Linked DNA regions of Homo sapiens: regions 1 and 3 are each linked to region 2. Evidence: promoter capture Hi-C in human tissues and cell types (Jung and others, 2019). All regions are on one chromosome and are shown on one strand. Each heading gives the region's core, a stretch centred on a gene start or on the middle of the fragment in contact. The rest is flanking DNA. Distances are from core to core; before and after follow the strand shown. Region 1 has its middle 57 kb from the start of TCIM. Region 2 holds the start of GINS4 (GINS complex subunit 4). Region 3 has its middle 95 kb from the start of TCIM.

Region 1 (2,815 bases), core at 59-2,558, 1.3 Mb before region 2:
GGGGCTTGGCCATGGGTCACTTTTCAAAGCTCCTGAGCAATGCTGGCACCCATTCATGGTTGTCCGCCACTGGGGCAGCAGTTTCGGCCATCTGGTAGGAACAGAGCACAAAGCTCCACCTATATCCCAGCTGCTGGCTAAGGAAAATGAAACTGTTCCAAGTCAGATTTTTTTTTTTCAAGCTCCTCTCTAGACAAAGGAGAAGATAATAAAATAAAAGAGTTAAAACTAGAATATGAGACATTTGGATTGGATATAAGAAGAAACTTGGGGGAAGAAGAGGTTAGGTATTAAAATGTATGACCTCAGGGATATTGTGTCATATCATTTTCTGGAGGGTTTCACAACAGGGATGAATTTCCATCTGTCTTCAAGGTGTTTCTAATGGAATGTCAAGATGATACTGGAGACTATAGCTCATTCTTTTAGACAGGGCTGAATTCTGCACTTATTCATTGAAAATAAATCAAGTTTTTCCCAAGTGTCCTATAATGTCCTAAAAAAGGGCACTAGGCTGGATGAAGGATTTGGGTGTACACATTGTGGCGGGTCCTGTTTGTAGAACTGTGACAGGCAGTAGAGTGTTTGGGGTAACTATGTATCCCCTAAAGCCAACTGCCTGGTTTCAGTTTTTCCACTTATTGATAGATAAACATACTCCTTAACAACCCTATCAGTTTACCTGTAATAGGGATAATGATGATGATGCTGGTGCTACCATCTTCATATAATTATTCTAATATTAGTTAATAGGCTATACTCCAAGAGTTCAATTAGTTCATATATGTAAACTACGTATACCACCCATGGAACATAGCAGATATTTGTATAAATATTTAATTTTTTTCATTAAAAGTGATTTTACGTTATCTGCATCAGAAGATTCATTCAATCCCAATTAATATTTTTACTTGCAAAATTAAAATATACACTCTTTTTTTCCTGTTCCTTAAGCTACAATAAAGTACAACACTTTCTAGGAAGGGCAAAATCTTAGTGCTGGAAGGAAATAATGAAATCTTCCAGAGGAACGGTTTTCAACTGTGGTTGCGTATTAGGGAGCTTTCAAATAATATTTATACCCAGACCCAAATACAAACAAGAGAATCAGGTGTGGAGGTTAGACACCAGTTTTTTTGTTTTTATTTTGTTTTCTTTTTCTGTTTTTGTTATTTACTCAACTTCATTTGTCATTCCAAAGTCTAACAAAGGATTCAAGCCATTGGTCTGGAACCATCTCTTCAAAATGCAGAAATTTCTCTAACCAACCTCTTCTTAATATTTCCATTGACACAGAATGGTATTTCCATTACCTCACATAAAACTGAATAGTCCTTTAAGTGTAATTCATGCTAAGCAAACAATTCAGACTGAACACATTCAATGTTTATTTTCAAATTTGAATTCATCACCTCCTTACGTTGTTGGCAAAAGTGATAAACAAATGATAAATGCCAAATATAATGAAATATTTCTGCAAATTCTGCAACTTTTTACAACCATCACAGTTAAGTGAAATAAAATATTTTCAAAAGCAAATTAAATTCTTTAGTAATAAATAACACAGTTATTATTACTTTGAATAAAATTACATAAAGATGGCATTTCGGTTTTGAAAGCTGTTTAGGAATCTATCTCCACATGATCAATTTCATTTATTTCTTTTTGAATTTATTTTATTTATCCATTACCAGTTGTGCAATAAACTATATAATCAAGAACCAGTGTCAGGCACTGGGCTATAAACCTTAATAAGGGCAAAACCAAAAGCTGGATTCAAAACTCAAAACTGTCAATTTCTTCAACGTGCCATACCTTTCTGTTTCCCCTAAACTATTAATTGTATTGGATATTTGCAGTTAAGCTGATTTTTAAATAGATTTGATATTGTTTGTAACAACTCAGAGCTATAATTCAGGTAAATTAAGGACTTGGTGGGGGAAGATTTTCTGTGGACGTTTTTTAAAAAATGAGTTCTTCTAGCTTATTTAAGATGTGATTTAACTCACCAGACTGTAGTGTGTATACAATTTCTGGAGACATTGATCAAGTAAGCCAGGACCTGCCTGCAACCAAGGCTATGTGTGCTGTGATCATTCTCTAAGTATCAGTGGGGGTTGCACATAGGCTGGTTTAGAGGACACAAATGAGATAAGAACAGGATGCCTAAAGCCTGGATGCCACTTAATTCAATGAGGACAGATCGTCTGAGTCAGTTTGGTTTGGAGGAAGGGCAGAAGTTGACTGTTCTTCGGAAGGACATCCGGAAGGGCGGTCACCAGGGAAACTGCAAATCACAATAACACTGCCACGGGTGCTGTTAAAGATGGTTACTGCAGCCTCCTCAGAAAAGCACTATTACATTTTAATCTCTTTATGGCGAATTATCAGCGGACCAAGGGTCATGAGCACCAGGTAGTAACAGCCCTCATTAATGGATGTTTAATCACTGCTATTTCTCCAGAGCCTTTAGAGTGCAGATTTTAGATCTGGTCTTATTTCTTCTAGATACTATCATTAACACATATCTTAGAAAACTTTTTGTATCCCAGATTTCCTTTGTTCATTTTATTTGCAACGGAACTGGCAGAGACCCATGGAGCCAGAATTAACGCAATGAAACACAATTAATACAAGTGACAAAGTGTTCATAATGATGATGTTGAATGGGAAGAAACCATCAACGTAGTTTTAAAACATTTCCAGGAGGGATAGCATTAGGAGATATACCTAATGCTAAATGACGAGTTAATGGGTGCAGCACACCAACATGGCACATGTATACCTATGTAACAAATCTGCACGTTGTGCACAG
Region 2 (2,979 bases), core at 195-2,694:
ACGCTTTGCACAGAAAACAAAGGACAGCAAAGAGAAAAGAATCAGCAACTCAGAGAAGAAAAACTGGATCACACAAAGATGGAAAAAATATATACATATACAGACATGGGTTTTTGTGCTTTTCCCCTCCAGAAGGTGAGTTGAAAGCATTGCCCCAAAGCAGTGATTCTCTTTTCTTTTTTCTTTTTTTTTCTTTTTTTTGAGATGGAGTCTGGCTCTGTCTCCCAGGCTGGAGTGCAGTGACGCCATCTTGGCTCACTGCAGGCTCCGCCTCCCGGGTTCACGCCATTCTCCCGCCTCAGCCTCCCGAGTAGCTGGGACTACAGGCGCCCGCCACCACGCCCGGCTAATTTTTTTGTATTTTTAGTAGAGACGGGGTTTCACCATGTTAGCCAGGATGGTCTCGATCTCCTGACCTCGTGATCCGCCCACCTCGGCCTCCCAAAGTGCTGGGATTACAGGCGTGAGCCACCGCGCCCGGCCCCAAAGCAGTGATTCTCAAACCTCAGCTGTGTCAGGGTCACCGGGAGGGCCTGGGTCTGGTGAAATACCCCCAGTTTCTGATTCGGTGGGCCAGGGTGGGGCCTGAGAACCTGCATTTTCACGGATTCCCAGGCGATGCTTCTGCTGGTCGTCCGATCCCAGGCTTCAAGAACCAGTACCCACTTTGTGAGGCCGAGGTGGGAGGATTGCTTGGATCCTTGAGTTCGAGACCAGCCTGGCCATCATAGGGAGAACCTCCCCACCCCCAACCCCGCCACAGTTCTTTTTTTTTTTTTTTTTAATTAAAAAATAACTGGGCGTGGTGGCGCTGGCCTGTGGTCCCAGCTACTCCGGAGGCTGAGGTGGGAGGATCGCTGGAGCCCGGGAGGCGGAGGTTGCAGTGAGCTGTGGTGGTGCCACTGCACTCCAGCCTGGGCACCAGAACGAGACCCTGTCTCAAGAAAGATGAAAAGGAATATACTGGAGATTCTGAAGGCAATGACCACACTGACCACAGGTGAAACCCCGCAAAGACGGAGGAACCCAAAGAGCCACGAGAGCTGTGGGTGGAGACGGCCCAGGAGGCTGCAGCGGCCTGCTTTCAACAGCATACTTCTGGGTGGGACCCCCCGGGGCGGACACCGCCGCTCCCCTTGGCCGCGGTGGCGGGCGCCCCCTCCCGACGCTCTTGGGTAGTGCAACCCGGACCGCACAGCGGAGCGGCCGGCCCCCAGGTGGGCGGGGCCAACCCGGACCAGCCTCCCGCCGCCTCAAGTCCTTGGGTTGCTGGGACTGCAGGCCGCCGCGAAGACAGTCCCCGCCCGCCGGGTGGGCGGGCCCAAGGAGACCGCCCCGCTCTTCCCCCCGGGCCTTGATTGGTCAGCGTCGCCCTTGCGCGATGACGTCGTGCCTGGGCGGAAACTTTGCGAGAGTAGCGCGGGAGCTGAGAAGTTGCAGGGTTGAGTTGGTCCCGGCAAGTCCTTGAGCAGTTTGTTCCTCTGTCTTCCCGCTTCCTGGTGCCCCGACTGCGTCCCCACGAACGCCCCGTCCTTACCGCCGGCTGCTGTGGAGTGCCTCGCTGTCTCCCAGGTCCCCGAGTGAGCGTCGAATGGGACCTCTGTGGCTAGGGCAGGCCTGTGTGGGTGGCACTGAGAGGGAGGAGGGGAGGGGGATGTTCGCAGTTTCCTTGCGACCCCAGGGACTTTCTTTGTCCCCGCCATCCACCTCCTTAGGCCTTTGGGATCGCCGACTGGTCTAATGTCGCCGGCCCTTGTGGCTCTGGGAAATTAGCATTGATTAATCTTCCTAACAATTTTTGTTTTTATAGAGACAGGATCTCCCTATGTTGCCCAGGCTGGTCTCGAACTCCTGGGCTCAAGGTATCTTCCTGCCTCGGCTTCCCAAAGTGCTGGGATTACAGGCGTGAGCCCGGCCAGCTCCTAATAATGTTAAGTGCTTGCTAGGAGTCAAGCGCTGTGCTGAGCGCAGGGGCTTCCCACGTCATTGCGTCCCCAGTGCTTAGTGCCAGGCACTGAGCAGAGGCGCGATTCGTATTTGAACTAAAACGAACCCCGTCCCTGAGGAACAAGACCTCTACTGGGAAGTCAAAGAAATGAATAGTGATTGTATGGTGTGATGGGTGCTCAGCTCTTGGTGGACAGAAGTAAGGGGGAGGCTTGTTTGAGAAACGGATACCTGACCTAAGCCTTGGAGGAAGAGGCAGACACTGGAAAACTAGAGTCCCTGCGTTCTCTCACCACTTGCTAAAGGGCCTCTACAACCCCAGGAAACCTCAATAAACCTTTCCTTTCTCCAGATAGATGTCTGTTCTTGCAGATAATTAGAAAACGCATTGCAGAGTATTGGTTCTTTCCCTCTCATTAGGTTCCTGGTTTCAGAGAAGATGACCGAAGAAGTGGATTTCCTGGGACAGGACTCTGATGGGGGTAGTGAGGAAGTGGTCCTAACTCCTGCAGAGCTCATTGAAAGATTGGAGCAGGTAAGCATCCCAGATCGAATCCCTTTGCTCCAGTCAGCCTTTTTATTTAGTTCAACTGTGAATATCAGGGATCACAAGATGAGGAAACGGAATTTGGGGCTTACTTTAGAACAGGGACTGGATCTTACCATCTACATGGAAACGGGAAGCAAGAAGGACATCCTCTGTTAGAGACCTCATCATATCAAACACAGCATCCCCAAGTGGGGTCAGTAAGGGACAGCTTTGGGCACATTCAGTGAACAGTTCACAGAGCAAGGATCCACGTGATATTTTCAGGGACTGTAGAGGTCCCTGAACTTCTTTACCTTAGTCCCTTGAACATCTGCTGTTTCCCTGGAGAATGCCTGTTTAGCAAGAAAATGCTGAAATGCCTGTAAGGGAAAACTGGTCATATTTTTCCTTTTTCTCACATGTTTTTTCTTGAGTCGTCTGCTCTCCATATGTCCACTGCTTATCTAAAATCCTTTCTGAAATATTTCTCCTTTAAGTTGTAA
Region 3 (2,854 bases), core at 36-2,535, 1.3 Mb before region 2:
TAATTTGGGGTGTCTCTGTTAGCTCTATTGTTTTTCTGTTTTCTGATTCCTAATTTATTACCTCTGAGTTTAATCTTCCTGATTTTCTTAGCATATAAAAATTAACTTAAAGTTTAGAATTGATTATATAGTTATTTTTCCAGCTAGTCTCATTTATTAGAGACATATTTAAAATTTTGAAGGTTCAGCTAAACATAGTGCTAATAATTTATGTATAGTTTCTTCATTGTAATGATTTTCTTAAAAGTTTGTGATTGAAGTTGACTTCCTCTTTGACAAAAGAGTTAATTAGGACAATATTTTTAATTTTCCAAAGCTGAAAAATATTCTTTTGACATTTTATGTTAACTTCTACTTTGATGATAATATGTTTTACACAATTTCATTTAATTGAATGAGGTCTTTTCTTTTATCTTATGGTCAATAAACAATATTGATTAGCTGACTTCATATCTACCACCCTTCCCTTAGTCCACTTCAGTTGTGGGAGATATGTTTCCAAAGTGGCAATCTGTTGTGTTTTCTGGTAGATTTTTCTTTCCTTACAAACCCATTGATTACTCTCCACCCCTTTTTTGCCTTGAACACAGATGGTCCAATGAGAGCAATATCAGACATACTAAAACCCTGAAGGAAAGGCCGAGAAACTAATAGAATAAATCTACTGTGATTTCGAGCTTTTAAATGAGCTGTACATCAATTACATTTTTCATCTGTACTTCTTGCTATGTTTGAAAACAAAAACAAAACAAAACACAGCCTCTTTGTGCCTCTCTGGGCACATTCTAAGTTACCTGAAATAGTTTCTTACTAATACAAACCTAATATATGATCACTCTTTGTATGTGTTCTATGGGCACTTTTTGAGGGGTTATTATCTGTAGTATTGAAAGTACTAACATAACATTTTATTAAATAAATATTATATAAAGAATATATCCTATGCAAAGAAATTAGCATATTTCTTATTTCTCTTAAGCTACTAACTTCCCAATTTTTCTCCATACACTGTGGCACTAGTTATTATTATTGTTGACTATTATATGTAAATAAATATATATCATATGTAAATAAGTATATTTTATATTTGCCTTCCATATTGCAGCATTATTTTTTACAAATTATAATTAATGCTAACCACTGGTTTTTTTGTCATGGATTTCCCATTCATGACATTTTAAGTTTGATTAATCACTTATTTAGTAAAAGTATGTCTGAAACTTTTGTTTTGCAAGAATAATAGCTGGTCTAGCAGTAACAACATAAGGATAATTTAGAAGTTAAAATAGAATCTTTGTTTCTCCCATAAGCTTAGACAATGAGGTGAACTGGCCTGGGCCTTTGAATCATTAGCCAAAGATGCAAAGACACAATGTGAGAAATTTCTGGTAACTAAGAAAACAGTAACTCACTGTTTCTGTAGGTCATGGAAGAAGCATAACTGGCAGTGGTTTCCAGAGCCTACAGCTGCTGGTAGTCTTGGTATAAACTATTGTGCCCACTATTGTTGTCTAAACTGTTTTCTGCCTGTTTCACAATCCGTTTGTCTTAGTCTGTTTTGTGCTGCTACCAGAGAATGCTTGAAACGGGGTAATTTATAATGAACATAAATTTATTGGCTAATCATTTTGGAGGTTGAGAGGTCCAATATCGAGGGGCCAGCATCTTGCAAGTACCTTCTTGCTGTATCATCCCATGGCAGAAGGGCAAAGAGAAGGCAAGAAAGAGCAAGAGATCAGACTCACAGCCCCAAGCCATTTTCTTTTTTATTTTATTTTATTTTATTATTATTATACTTTAAGTTTTAGGGTACATGTGCACAACGTGCAGGTTTGTTACATATGTATACATGTGCCATGTTGGTGTGTTGAACCCATTAACTCATCATTTAGCATTAGGTATATCTCCTAATGCTATCCCTCCCCCCTCCCCCCACCCCACAACAGTCCCCAGTGTGTGATGTTCCCCTTCCTGTGTCCATGTGTTCTCATTGTTCAATTGCCACCTATGAGTGAGAACATGTGGTGTTTGGTTTTTAAATGATGAGTTCATGTCCTTTGTAGGGACATGGATGAAGCTGGAAACCATCATTCTCAGCAAACTATCGCAAGGACAAAAAGCCCCAAGCCATTTTTTAATGAGCATTAATCAATTCATGAAGGTGGAGCCCTCGTGACCTAAACGCCTGCCATTAGGGCCCATCTCCCTCTTGGCAACACTATTGCATTTGAGATTAAGTTCCCACCACATGCTCTTTGGGGGATACCTTTAAACCATAACACATTTCATCAGTATTCCTAGTGATTCTATGAGTTACCTAATATCCTAGTAATTTTATGTTTTGCTTATATCAGTCATAGTTGGTTTCTGTTTTTTAAAACCAAGACTGATGGGGTTAAACATTCAACATTAAGCTATTTTTCTGTTTCCCTTAGCCTCTCCATGAACCACAATTTTCACGTGCTGCTGTTCTGAGCTAAGAAATAAATATCTAACAAATGCATTCCCTAAAGGTTAGATAGCCAGTCCTCACCCTTGGAACCAGGATGTTCAAATAAGGTTTAAGGGTTTTTTTGTTTTTGTTTCTTTTTAAAAGGGCTCTTTTACATGCTTCCAACTGACATTTATTTTTGTTCAAAGACATTGCTGGAAATAAACCTTCAGTGAACTCCCTCAATTGTTTTTCCCATCAGCACTTTATCTAGGAATTTCCCAAAGATTCTGATCTCTCAGTAGAATCCTTCACTGGTTACCAACACTAATGTCAGTGTTTTCCCCTTCTATGCATTTGATTTCATTGACTCTTTACTGATGATCCAGAAAGTGAGCAGTTTATCTTCCCATACCATCAGAT

What was found. The method cuts DNA at HindIII sites, captures the fragments that hold promoters and counts their contacts. A contact is called where the count stands out against the background at its distance.
Region 1: a contact is called between a fragment that was not itself captured here and the fragment with the promoter of GINS4 in region 2, in 1 of the 25 tissues and cell types used here (liver).
Region 3: a fragment that was not itself captured here is called in contact with the fragment with the promoter of GINS4 in region 2 in 1 of the 25 tissues and cell types used here (heart right ventricle).

The regions. Positions count from the first base shown.
Region 1 is chr8:40,208,680-40,211,494 of GRCh38, forward strand. No RefSeq gene overlaps it. Among named protein-coding and RNA genes, the nearest start is that of TCIM, 57 kb to the left of the region's middle. The HindIII fragment of the contact is 4,749 bases long and covers 1-2,815 here.
Region 2 is chr8:41,527,817-41,530,795 of GRCh38, forward strand. GINS4 (GINS complex subunit 4) reads left to right here and starts at 1,445. Exons shown (of 8, transcript NM_032336.3): 1 at 1,445-1,580; 2 at 2,368-2,482. The coding sequence starts at 2,387. RefSeq lists a silencer at 991-1,420. The HindIII fragment of the contact is 17,762 bases long and covers 1-2,979 here.
Region 3 is chr8:40,246,977-40,249,830 of GRCh38, forward strand. No RefSeq gene overlaps it. Among named protein-coding and RNA genes, the nearest start is that of TCIM, 95 kb to the left of the region's middle. The HindIII fragment of the contact is 3,343 bases long and covers 1-2,854 here.